Linked DNA regions of Homo sapiens: regions 2 and 3 are each linked to region 1. Evidence: promoter capture Hi-C in 16 types of primary human blood cells and fetal thymus (Javierre and others, 2016). All regions are on one chromosome and are shown on one strand. The core of a region is centred on a gene start or on the middle of the fragment in contact, and the rest is flanking DNA. Distances in the headings are between cores, read along the strand shown. Region 1 holds the start of KAT6A (lysine acetyltransferase 6A). Region 2 overlaps GOLGA7 (golgin A7). Region 3 overlaps HOOK3 (hook microtubule tethering protein 3).

Region 1 (4,433 bases), core at 527-3,026:
AAAATTGTTCATTCACGAGCAACATTTTTTTATTTTAAACCGCCTACTACAGTACTTGTACAACATTATTCTAGGTGCTGGAGATGCAGAGTCATTATAGGAGAGCATTTACCAGTGAATGTATTCGGAATATATATATATATATATATATATCACATGTAAGTGCAAAATGACTAGAGCAAATGATACTACTACAGAAGTTCAGAAAAGGAAGTCAGCATGGAAGTTAAGGCAGTGGGTGAGAGGGAGGCCCTTAAAAGCTAAAGCTGAGATAAAATGAGGTATTGCGGGCGACAGTCTAGGCGGGGTGTGTCGTATGGGGTTGGGGACAGGGCAGATAAAGGTCAGGCAGCAGGATACACGTCCATGTCAACGATTAAACATTTAGTGTCTTTTTCATGTCTACTGTCTTTCTAGTGAATGCAGAAAAAAAAAAAATGCATGACTTGGCCAGGTGCAGTGTCTCAGGCCTGTAATCCCAGCACTTTGGGAGGCCGAAGAGGGCGGATCACTTGAAGTCAGGAGTTCGAGACCAGCGGCCTGGCCAACATAGTGACACCCCGTCTCTACTAAAAATACAAAAATAAGCCAGGCGTGGTGGCGGGCGCCTGCAGTCCCAGCTACTCAGGAGGATGAGGTAGGAGAATCGCTTGAACCCAGGAGACGGAGGTTGCAGTGAGCCAAGATCGCACCACTTGCACTCCAGCCTGGGCAACAGAGCGACACTGTCTCAAAAAAAAAAAAAAAAGTATGACTCAGTCTCTGCATCAAAGAGTTTAAAGTAGATGAAAGGCAAGACAAAGAAACGTCCATACAGCCAGTAGTGGACAGGCAGGCCATGAAGAACCGCCTGCTCGTGGTTCCAACGCCCTAAGTATGGACAAGAGTTCCGCACAGGGCAAGAAGGGAAGACCGGCTTTGGAATAAGACAAATCTCAGTCCCAGGCTCAGGTGCGCGCCACATACTAGCTGTGTGACCTTGTCCAAGTCACACGACCCAGGTCTGTGGAGTCTCCCATAAAATGGCTCTAGTGAGCTCCAAGAACCCTCTCAGCTGCTGGGGGAGGGAAGAAATGAAGTCACTGCTGAAAGGGGTTAAGACGGGTGCTTCTGGTTCCACCCTCTCCCCAACTCTTCCCACCGACACAGGAGAGCCGTCGGGGGCTGAGGCGAGCTGCCAGGGGTGAGGACGGGAAGCCGCCTCCTCTCCGCCCCCCAGGCCCCGCCCTCGGGCTCCGGAAAGTCGCTGTGCAGGCAAATGAGTGGGGAGGGAGGGCTCACTAACTGTAAACAGACGCCGCCGAGAGTTCCCATCCTGCGTGGCTGCCGGATTTCCGTGCCACACTGAAGCCACCCCACCCAGACTCCTGCCCTCAGTTTCCCCAGCGGTGGCATGGGGTGCACCAGCTCCTCCTCTCCCGGGTCGCCGTCTGACTTAAACGCGTGAGACGGGAGAGGAGGAACCCCCGCTCCCCAGCCTCCAGCCCCACCAAGTCCTCCTCCTCCCCTGGCTTTGGCCTTTTGTACCGGCCCCACGTGACCCCGCCGGCCGGCTCTTCCCTGCTGCCCCGCCCCGCCCTCCGGCCTTTCCCGGCTCTCGGCCCAGCTCTTCCCGCTCTCGGCCGCCCCCCACCCGCGCTGCCGGGCCTCCGCCTCCCCTCGCCGCCCGCCCAGGCTCTTCCAGCTCCCTCCCCCAGGCCGCCGTTCCCTCGCGACGCTCCCCTCCCCCCGCGGCTGTTCCGCCGCCTTGCCTCCCCTCCCCCCGGCTGGAGCTCACTGTCTCCAAGATGGCGGCCGTGTCAGTTTGGGGCATCTCCGCGGTCCGGCCCGGGGCCCCGGGATCTCGGCTGTCCTTCCTCCCGGTAAGTAGCCGAGGGGCCGTTCCCGGCCGCCCCCGGCCGCCCAGCCCGAGGCCGAGCCGCTCCAGGGCCCACTCCGCTGCCTCGCGGGGTCGGCGGGCCGCTGCAGGCCCCGCCGCGGCCTGCGCCGCCTCCCGCTGCTCTGCGCCAGGCCTCGGGCTGGGGCGCCGTGGCCGCCCCCTCGCGCCCGCCCGCTCGCTCGCTCGCTTGCTCGCTTGTTCGGCGCCCGGCTGCCCCGGCCCGCGGCCCGCGCGCCGCCGCCCGGCCCCGCGCTCGCGGGCCCCGCGCCCCCGATCCCGCCGGCCGGGCCCGCCCTGGGGGAGCCGGCGGGTGGGCGGGCGGCGAGCGGCCCAGGCCGCGGAGCCTCGGGCTGGCGGAGCCGGCGAGCCCGCTCTCCCTCGGGGCGCGCCCACCCGCCCGCCGCGCGCGTGCCGGCTGTGCCGGGCCGGGCCGCTTCTCCCCGCGCTCGCGGGCGCTCGGGTTCGGGCTCGGGCTCGGGTTCCGGCTCCGGCTTTGGCTCCGGCCGGGGGCGCGGGGATCCGAGCGGGGCTGAGGCGGCGAGCGGGGCTGACAGGCCGGCGGGTGTTGTGGTGCGAGGCGCAGCACGTGTGGTGTTGTGTCTGCCGGGCTGTCAGCCCAGCCGCCGAGGGGAGGCCGGGCGCCTGTCAACCTCGCGGCTTGGCCCGGTGCGCGACTGTCAGGCTCCCAGCAACCCGCGCCGCCCTCGAGCCGGCCCCCAGAGCTTAGGGTGCGGAGCTGGGCCGGGGCTATGCACCGCTCTGAACTCCTTCACGTGATTTCATTGTTAACTTGTGCTCGGGGTCTGTTTCCATCGCGTGGAAACGGTGCAGCGCCCCGTCGGCGAGCTGCCGGGCTGTGCAGATCCAAGTTTTTAAAGTTTCTCGCTCTTTGAAAAGAGAGCGCGAAGACGTGTTTAGGGGTGGGGAATGGGGACGGGAAGGACTGTCGGAAGCGAGTTGCGCTCGCTCTAGCCGCTCGTGTACTTTCCGGGAGTTAAGATCCGAGGCTGCAGGCGCTTGACTTTCCGAAGACCTGGAGACTGATGACAATCCCGACTGGAAAGACAATGAGTGACTGTCACTCATTCTTTTACCTGCGAAGCTTAGTCAATTAGGACGTTCGTTCCCAGCTTGTTAAACTCAGGATGTAGCTTCTCATTTAGTTTAGACTTAATATCTGTATAATGAGCTTACTTGGAGTAATGATACTCTGATTTCTATCCTCTTGAGACCCTCACCAAATTGAAGCATGATTCTCCCAGGGGGCTTCTTTTTAGGCAGCTGATTTAAAAACAAATCTTGGCTCAGGTTTGAATGTTTGCTTCACTCTTTTCTTTCCTATCAGAGTTAATAGTAATATCTCTTTCCTAGTGTGTATTAGTTTTCCGTTTGATTTTAATGTCACTACCAAGAATAGTTGCTGTGGGAGCCATTTGTCTAGCATTGTTTATATTGTAATGCAAATGATCTCCAGAATGAGAGCAGAAGTTCTAAAAAACACTTCAGTTAAACTTATTTTTGGAGGCAAAAGAGTTAGATTCAGAATTCAGTACTTTAGTGATTAAACAAGATTGCATCTACCAGATTCTTTTATAGGGATACTGACTTTGATTCAGAGAGACAGTACATTTCTGTTTATGTTTTATTAATGTTCGTTTCAGGACAGCAATCTTGAATTTATATCTTTATTATTTGGGCTTCTCTTTAGTCCTACAAGTAGCCAGTGTATTTCTTTTTCTGTACCGTCCGTTTGATATGTAGTATGTGCGTTGACCCCAGTGATTCTGGGCCTTCCTCATTTCTAGTTTTCCTGTCTGAATTACTTACACGCAGTTTGACAGTTGTGACTCTCTTCAGCATATGAATAGAAACATCTTAGTTTGGGTTAGGAGAAGCTATCAGCATGTAATTCTTAAAATTTGAATGAAAGTGGATTATTGTTAAATTCAGTAAGCACTTTTACTCTAGGCTATTTTCAATAGTATTTTTGTTTCCATTAGGAGAGATTAAGGTAATACTGTACTTAAATTATAAACTGGGTGTGCATATTGTATTCATTCTTTTCATGTAAGAACTAAAATTTTCTCAGTCGTTTTCTGCCTTATTGACTGTTTTTGTCTACTCTGAATGTCTAGAATTTTGAAAGATGAAAGATTCACTTTTACTTTCATTGCAGGATTCTTTCTACTAATCCAGATACTTGTTGAAGTGCTGACTAGTTTCTTGGGGAAAGATGTCAAGGAAGAGTTGAAATTCCTAGACTGGTGAGCAGAGATTGCGGAGTACAGAATAGCCATCACCCACTCTGGTTAGTGGTAGCTTAAAGGTCATTCTTAGAACATGTCATCGTGTTTCCTCATTGTATCCTAATTACTCATCTTTTTTTTTTCTTTTCTTTTTTTTTCTTTTTTATCCCAATGGTTTACATACATGATTGTTTTGGAATATTAATAGATAAGTTTGGAAATTCTTAAGGGTGCCTAGTAAACACTTGCTGTTTGATTGCTTTATGATGAGGATGCTTATTTTCATTCGAAATAGGTCTTGGTAGAAA
Region 2 (4,535 bases), core at 1,964-4,463, 560 kb after region 1:
CACCCTGGCCTGCCACACCCCTATCCTGTGCCTATAAAAGCCCTGAGACCCCAGCAGGCAGACAAACAGGTGGCTGGATGTCAAGAGGTGCACATTAGTGGAGGAACACACAGGGTGGCTGGATGTCAAGAGGAACACACTGGCGTAGGAGCACACTGGCACACCGGTAGGCCATCAATTGGCAGAATCAGGTGGAGTTTGGCCAGGGTGGTTGGAGAAGAGTTCGGTCATCGAGCGGCCTGACTCCAGGGGAAAACTATCTCCCTTCTGGCTCCCCCATCTGCTGAGAGCTACTTCCACTCAACAAAACCTTGCACTCATTCTCCAAGCCCACATGTGATCCGATTCTTCTGGTACACCAAGGCAAGAACTCTGGGATACAGAAAGCCCTCTGCCCTTGTGATAAGGCAGGGGTCTAATTGAGCTAACACAAGCCGCCTATGGATGGCTAAACTAAAAGAGCACCCTGTAACATATGCCCACTGGGGCTTCAGGAGCTGTAAAACATTCACCCCTAGACACTGCTGTGGGGTTGGAGCCCCACAGCCTGCCCATCTGTATGCTCTCCTAGAGGTTTGAGCAGCAGGGTACTGAAGAAGCAAGCCACACCCCATCACACGCCCTGCGAGGGGGACAAGAGAACTTTTCCTGTTTCAACATGGGGAAGGATATAAATAACTATACTTAAATATACCTGTTTATATGAGATGGAACAGGATGGTAATGAAGAATACAACAGCATTTTCAGCCAACAGCTCCAAAAACTTTAGCTGCAACTATATGCACTCTCCACTACATGGAGTGTAAGACATTTCTATCAGATGGGTCATAATATATTCTTATAGCATTTCGTTTTCTAAGCACTGTCAGAATTTAGTGATATACCAGGGGCTTACCATGATTAATTTACAGTCATTTATTTAACATACATTCAATGAGTGCCTGATATACCCAAAGCATGGTGTTAGGCATGAAGAGGGATACAAAATGGTTAAGGCATTGTCCTCAAGAAAAGTACATACTTGAAAGGCAAATAAGACAAGAAAATAAACTGCTACATTCCAAAGAAGAGTGAGGCAAGTGCCAGAAAACAGATACAAATAAAATGTTGTAGGGACACAAGAGAAGAGAAAGAATTCTGACTAAAACAGAGAACAAGTTAGATGGAAGTGAGACCTAAGGGACTGGTGGGATTTGAACCTGGGAAGATAGCATTCCAGGTGGAGGAGAACCACAGTGGGTATGTTTGCTGACCAGTGAGGGATGGAGTTTGGCTGAGGGAGAAAGTGAAGGAAGGAATGGGAGGTAGCGCTGGAAAGGTAAGCTGAGGTCAACTTGAGCAGGGCCTTGAATTTTACTCAGTGGTAAAACATGGGAATCCAGGGAAGGTCTCCGACTTGGCAGAAGTAGTAGGGGAAGTAAATCTGCGCTTTATAAAAACAACAGCAGATAGTTTAGAAAAGCAAAAGGAGGGAAGAAATGAGACAAGTCAGACTATTTCAATAGTCTAGGAGAGACAGAATAAGGGCATAACCCAGGATAGTGGCAGAGGAAATCACAAAAAGTTAATGACTGGGAAAATGAAAGATACTTCAGTCTTTGAAAACAGATTAATTTTTCCCTCTTCTTCATCCCTCATGCCCAAAGATGGTACTGAAAAGACAGGGGTGCTATTGACAAAATGGGGAGGTGGGAGGTTTGACTTCTGGTCATCTTAAGTTGAGAAATCAGCAATTCGGGAGCTAGTAGGCAGCTGGAAAGAGAAAGTAAGAACTCAGGTGGGAGAAGAGAGTGAAATTTAGGGAAATAAAGTAAAAACATTCCCAGAAAGCTGAGTAGGAAGAGAACATATAGATTTTCTACATTCTTCTTAAGTGTAGGCCAGTCTGAACATTGACACATCATCTGCAAGTGGACATACCAACTGCAACCTGTTTTGAAAGACTCAGGACTATGTGCCTCTGTACACAGGAACAACACAATTTGAATGATAAATGCCCCTAAATATTTTACGGCAACTATCACCATGTAAGCATCAATGTGTAATAAACTTGCCTTCTTCATGATTTTAAGAGATTTTTGTGAAAACAAATGTAGCATTACCTTCTCATAATGAGTTTCCATGCATAGGAAGATGGTATATGCTGTTAAACAAGCCAAACAACCTTCGAGATATGACTGGCCGCCGAGCTTCTCTGCTTCTGCATAAAGGTTATTTAGAGTTCGAACTGTTTCTTCAAACTGCTGCCTATCAATCTGTAGAGAAGAAAATATTTAAAAATTAAGTTTTGGAAAAAAAAAATCAACTAATGCATGCTATCATTAATTTATCTTGTTTTCTCACCATTCTTAGTTGACAATTTTTTTGGTGACTAAATCTGGGCCTAAGTTACCAAAACTGCTTAATTTGTTTAATTTTATCCCTCTTATAAATACTGGATAGCTTCAAGGCTCAATAAGGTACTTCTTTATTCTTTCTACTAAATTTCAAGTAACTTTAGGCTCTATTCCTCTTTCCATTCATTTAGTTTCACACTTACTGAGCGCCTACTATCAGATACTATGAAAAATCTCAAGATAAAGCACTGTCTCAATCCTTAAGAGTTTAATTATGCAAGCAGAACAGGCAATGTAAACATAAAAATGCAGTAAGCTGGCCAGGTGCGGTGGCTCATGCCTGTAATCCCAGCACTTTGGGAGGCTGAGGTGGGCGGATCACGAGGTCAGGAGATGGAGACCATCCTGGCTAACATGGTGAAACCCCGTCTCTACTAAAAATACCAAAAAAAATTAGCCGGGCATGGTGGCGGGTGCCTATAGCCCCAGCTACTGGGGAGGCTGAGGCAGGAGAATGGCGTGAACCCGGGAGGTGGAGCTTGCAGTGAGCCGAGACTGCGCCACTGCACTCCAGCCTGGGTGACAGAGCGAGACTCCGTCTCAAAAAAAAAAAAAAAAAAAAAGCAATAAACTGACAGGGTACTATCATATAGGCAAATATAAAGCCTAGTGGGGACACAAAAGCAAGGAGAAATTCCCTTTATCTGGGAAGGGCAGGTAATCTTAAATTGAGTAACTAAAGACTGGAATTTACTAGGCAAAAAAAAAAAAAATGGCATTTTAGCAGAAGGATCAAAAGGCGTAGGTTCTATATTCTGTTTACTCAGCCTATCTCTTTTGAAGCAATTATCTTGTTACTAAATAAGGTAAAATTTGTTAAGGTAAAATCTCAAGCTAATAAACAATTTTTCACATTAAGTCATTCTTATTACCTCTTTCTATTTGGTGACACCATTATCTTAAATTTACACTAATACTACCACAGGTTGAGCATCCCTGATCTTAAATTCTGAAGTCAGAAAGGCTCCAAAATCTGAAACTTTTGAGCACTGACATGATACCACAAGTGGGAAATTCCAAACCCGACCTCATGTGAGGGGTCACAGTCAAAATGCAGGCGCACAACACATAGTTTATTCAGTGTCCCCAAGAGAAAAAGACCCTTCCAGCCCCCATCAGCTGCCATGTATCTTTTCCATGCACAGCCAGATTCTCCCATGCAAGCGTGCTCACAAAGGGTGATAAGATGGTTCAGTGTACACACACTTTGTCTCATAAAGTCATTTAAAATATTGTATAAAATTACCTTCAGGTTATATGTATAAGGTGGATATAAAACATAATGAATTTCGTGTTTAGACTTGGATCCCATTCCCAAGATATCTCATTAGTATAAACAAATATTTCAAAATCTAAAAAAACCCCAAAAACTGAAATACTTCTGGTTCCACATATTTCACATAAGAAAGAACCTGTACTGTCATCCATTGTTTCACTCAATCATCTGCTTTTACTTTATTCTTCCAATATTACTTTACTGTCTTCTAATAGTACTTTGTATAACAGATTTCAAATTTTGCTACTTCATCCCAGGACTTTCAAGGCCCATTAGGAGAGCAATCATCCAATACTGCCATTCTTATCTGTCTGCACTCTAGGCCTTCTCTCGCATAAGGATTCCCTTATTTCTAAAATTAATAACTACTTACGTATGAATTCTCTCTTTTATGAAGTCCTTATTTAAAAGACTTTTTTGTTTGGCTTTTTTTTTTTCTCCTTTCCTGTCTCTGTGAACCTATTAAATCTTTCTTTATAATAGAAACCGACTCAGAAAAAAAAAAATCAGGCTGGCGTGGTGGCTCATTCCTGTAATCCCAGCACTTGGGAAGTTGAGCTGGGTGGATCACTTGAGCTCAGGAGTTTGAGACCAGCCTGGGCAACATGGTGAAACTCTGTCTCTACTAAAAATGCAAAAATTAGCCAGGCGTGGTGGTGCATGCCTATAGTCCTAGCTACTCAGGAGGCTGAGGTGGGAGGATTGCTGGAGCCTGGGAAGTGGAGGTTGCAGTGAACTGAGATCTCACCACTGCACTCCAGTCTGGGTGACAGAGTGAGACCCTGTCTCAAAAAAAGAAAGAAAGAAAAAAAACCCTCAACATACAGTATGAGCCCTACTATTCACTATTCCCAAGAATGTA
Region 3 (4,164 bases), core at 996-3,495, 850 kb before region 1:
TCTTCCCCACTGGTAAAAGAGAAATCGTGGTGGATACTGGGTGGCTTCCCAGCATCCATTCTACTCACACAAGATCAATCTATGAAAATCACGGCACGTTCATCCCCTCTACCAGTGACTGACTCAGGGACACACAGGGAAAAGACAATTTGGACTAAAGAGAGATAAGGAGATGCTTCTGGGAAAGAAAAGCCAATCTCCTGTTGATTTAAGTATGCTGCCTCCATTACTGTGAGCCGTCATCTCATGACTACAAAGGCAATCATCTTAAGATTAGGCCAATGCAGTGAAAGGCAGAGAGAAGAGCTAGAAAGAACTATATCCCCTCCACCACGGCACCCCCCCCCCCAAAAAAAGAAACAGGAAAAAAAAAAAAAAAGAACTATGTCCTAAAGGTAAAAACTGAACTACTGAATTTAAAAATCTTGATGCCTCCCGGTATGTGAGATGAATTCATTTATTCTTTACATCTGGTGAGGTTGCAGTTTCTGTTACTCGGAGGCCAAATATCTTTACACAGATGTAGAAGTCACACTTAGAATGGTTAGGTTAGATATTCACTTCATTTTGATTTCAAATATATTCTGAAACTTTGTACTAATCAACATGATGTAGCCAAGAAATGTACTTTCCCTAATAGTATAAATTCTCTCTCAAAGTAAGAAAATGTAGCTGAGCCAGCTACCCAGTAGTGTACTCAGGATTTAGACGGAAATCAATCCCTGAGAACAGACAGACACAGGCCATCCTCTCATAGAACTTACAACTAGGAAAAATGAAACAGTATAATAGAAGTGTCAACAGCAGGCATAAAGATGAGAAGTGAGAGTGGGATGCAATTTAGGTATGAAGAGCAGCTTGGTACAGATCGAGTAGGGGTAAGAATTGGAGGAAGAAACAGAACAGGGGAGAATTAAAACGGTGAAAGACAGGGCAAAAAACTGAAGAATTAACATGTAAAACCTTAGAAGCCACATTAGGACCTTATTCTATGAATAAAGTAAGCAAAGGATTTGAACCAGGGGAGTGAGCCATGAGGTTTGCATTGTATTAATATAAGATCTGGCCGGGGGCGGTGGCTCATGCCTGTAATCCCAGCACTTTGGGAGGCGGAGTCGGATGGATCACGAGGTCTGGAGATCAGAACCATCCTGACTAACACAGTGAAATCCTGTCTCTTCACTAAAAATACAAAAAATTAACCAGGCCTGATGGCACACACCTGTAGTCCAAGCTACACTGGAGGCTGATGCAGGAGAATCGCTTGAACCCGGGAGGCGGAGGTTGCAGTGAGCCAAGATCATGCCACTGCACTCCAGCCTGGGCGACAGAGCGAGACTCCGTCTCAAAAAAAAAAAAAAAAAAAAAGATCATACCGGCTGCAGTATGAAGGAAGGAGTGGAGGGAAAGAGACAGGAAGACCCATTTGAGTAGGTTTATATACTAACACGGATGAAGCTAAACTCAGTACAGACAATGAGAATACTGGGAATAACACTCAGGTGACCATATGTCTTCACACAAATTTTTATTTATTGGGTTAGAAAAGAAGTAAAACTGCTAGGTCAAAAAGTGTATGAACATTTTACGGTTTTTGATAAAACTGTCAAACTGCCCTAAATATATACTGTAGCAATTTATTCTCTTACTAACGGTGGGTGAGTGGCTACTTCTCCGCACCGTATCATTTATCAAATCTTTTTGTTTTGTTTTGTTTTTCAGACGGAGTCTCACTCTGTCGCCCAGGCTGGAGTGCAGTGGCGCGATATCGGCTCACTGCAAGCTCCGCCTCCCGGGTTCACGCCATTCTCCTGCCTCAGCCCCCCGAGTAGCTGGGAATACAGGCGCCCGCTACCATGCCCGGCTAACTTTTTTGTATTTTAAGTAGAGACAGGGTTTCACCGTGTTGGCCAGGATGTCCTCATCTCTGACCTCGTCATCCGCCCGCCTTAGCCTCCCAAAGTGCTGGGATTACAGGCGTTTGAGCCACCACGCCCGACCTCATTTATCAAATCTTTAAAAGACAACTATTGGCCGGGCACGGTGGCTCATGTCTGTAATCCCAGCACTTTGGGAGGCCGAAGAGAGTGGATCACGAGGTCAGGAGATGAGACCATCCTGGCCAACACGGTGAAACCCCGTCTCTACTAAAAATACAAAAAATTAGTCGGGCGCTGTGGCGGGCGCCTGTAGTCCCAGCTACTCGGGAGGCTGAAGCAGGAGAATGGTGGGAACTCGGGAGGTGGAGCTTGCAGTGAGCCGAGATCGCGCCACTGCACTCCAACCTGGGCCACAGAGCGAGACTCCGTCTCAAAAAAAAAAAAAAAAAAAAAAAAGACAACTATTAACAGTACAGTCAGTAGCTTCTTTGTATATAATACAGGAGAGTTTTGCAGGTAGAGACGGTTATGGTGGTAGAGGCCCAGGGAATTATCTTAAAGATCCTCATAGCAAGTTTTTACTTAAGTGTCTATTTGGGAAAGCTGATAAGAGGATCCTTCCAAGCTGCCCTGACACAAACCAAACACCTGGTAGAGGTGCAATAAATGATTAGTAAATGAATACATGAAACAAATAAACACCATCTGCGGGAACTGATTTTGAATTTTACTCCATACTATCTCCAGCTGCCTGCTCATTAGTAAAAGAAATAAGCACTTAAAAGAAATAAGCACTTGCTTCCATTCTACAGTTGCCAAGTCAATGGCCCATTTTCAAAAAAGAAAACCCAATCTTTCTTGTAGGTTTGTTTAGAAGGAAAAATAGAGGCAGCAGTGAGGACTATGTCTCATTCTTCTCTTTATCACTGACCTCAGCACAATGCCTGATACGAACAAGCCCTCAGTGGACGCCACTTTGAATGAAAGGAGCTAATTCTAATCCCTAGTTTTGCCCTGTAAATTTAGACAGGATGTTTCATCTCTCTCAATATCAGTTTTTCCATATAAAGAAAGATTGGGGAAAAATAGCCTATAGAAGGGTGTGTTGCTTCAGAATGAATGAGAAAATGAATGCCCATGAGGTATTTTGCAAAGTCTAAAGCAATGGTCCCAAACCTGGTGTGTAGGGGAATCATCTGGGGGGGTTTGAAAATACACATTTTGGCAGGGCGTGGTGGCTTATACCTGTTACCTCAGCACTATGGGAGGTCAAAGCTGGAGGATCACTTGAGCCCAGGAATTCGAGACCATGCTGAAAAACATGGCAAAATTCTGTCTCTACAAAAAATACAAAAATTAGCTGGGTATGGTGGGTCACGCCTGTAGTCCCAGCTATTCAGGAGGCGGAGGTGGGAGGATCACTTGAGCCTGGGGGGTCGGGACTGCAGTGAGCTGTGACTGCTCCACGGCACTCCAGCCTGGGCAACAGAGTGAGACCCTGTCTTAAAAAAAAAAAAAGAGAGAGAGAGAGAGAATACACATTTCTTGGCTCCCCCTACTGAATCAGAATCTGTGTGTAGGAAGCTGGGGATCTATTTTTAACAAGTTCATCAAATAATTCTTACACAGCTGGGCACTGGTTTGGCATTTGGAATCCTATGATCCAAAGCACTATGAAAGGGAAGGGATGCAAGATTGGAAAACAGCCTCTGGCCAATCAGAAGAAGCAACTCAACAAAGCAGGTAATTCAAAAAAGCAAGTAACTTAGTTGTTAAGACTTGATCTGGGCCTGGCACGGTGGCTCACGCCTGTAATCCCAGAACATTTGGAAGCCGAGGCGGGTGGATCTTGAGGTCAGGAGTTCAAGACCAGCCTGACCAACATAGTGAAACCCCGTCTCTACTAAAAAATACAAAAATTAGCCGGGCGTGGTGGTGCGTGCCTGTAATCCCAGCTACTAGGGAGGCTGAGGCAGAATTGCTTGAACCCAGGAGGTGGAGGTTGCAGTGAGCCGAGATTGTGCCACTGCACTCCAGCCTGGGCAACAGAGCAAGACTCCACCTCCAAAAAAAGACTTGATTTGTTTTTTTCTCTTGGGATTTAGGGAAGCTAAATTTTCATTTTTGTTTTTAAAACATGGCTTTATTCAATTATTTTCTCTGTATTAGCCCTTGAGGTACATAGTTGCTCATAAGGGTCAGAGATGTCCACCTCTGCTGCAAGACCAAAGTGAAACAGATCCTAAAGAAAATTTATCCCCTAGTTTATTTTTGGGGTGATGAA

Evidence for each region. Contacts are between HindIII fragments. The CHiCAGO score rates a contact against its expected background, and 5 or more counts as called.
Region 2: a contact is called between a fragment that was not itself captured here and the fragment with the promoter of KAT6A in region 1, in 1 of 17 cell types (neutrophils). The highest score is 8.0, in neutrophils.
Region 3: a contact is called between a fragment that was not itself captured here and the fragment with the promoter of KAT6A in region 1, in 1 of 17 cell types (fetal thymus). The highest score is 6.5, in fetal thymus.

What each region holds. Positions count from the first base shown.
Region 1 is chr8:42,049,330-42,053,762 of GRCh38, reverse strand. KAT6A (lysine acetyltransferase 6A) reads left to right here and starts at 1,776. Exons shown (of 17, transcript NM_006766.5): 1 at 1,776-1,862. It overlaps KAT6A-AS1 (KAT6A antisense RNA 1), which reads right to left and starts at 2,013. Exons shown (of 2, transcript NR_136589.1): 1 at 1,778-2,013. RefSeq lists enhancers at 642-1,162, 1,163-1,684 and silencers at 1,133-1,292, 1,483-2,112, 2,213-2,682. The HindIII fragment of the contact is 5,822 bases long and covers 1-2,983 here.
Region 2 is chr8:41,495,230-41,499,764 of GRCh38, reverse strand. It overlaps GOLGA7 (golgin A7), which reads right to left. Exons shown (of 5, transcript NM_001002296.2): 2 at 2,104-2,256. Among named protein-coding and RNA genes, the nearest start is that of GOLGA7, 6.9 kb to the right of the region's middle. The HindIII fragment of the contact is 6,770 bases long and covers 1-4,535 here.
Region 3 is chr8:42,901,511-42,905,674 of GRCh38, reverse strand. The region is part of intron 1 of HOOK3 (hook microtubule tethering protein 3); the gene reads right to left. Among named protein-coding and RNA genes, the nearest start is that of HOOK3, 6.6 kb to the right of the region's middle. The HindIII fragment of the contact is 6,491 bases long and covers 1-4,164 here.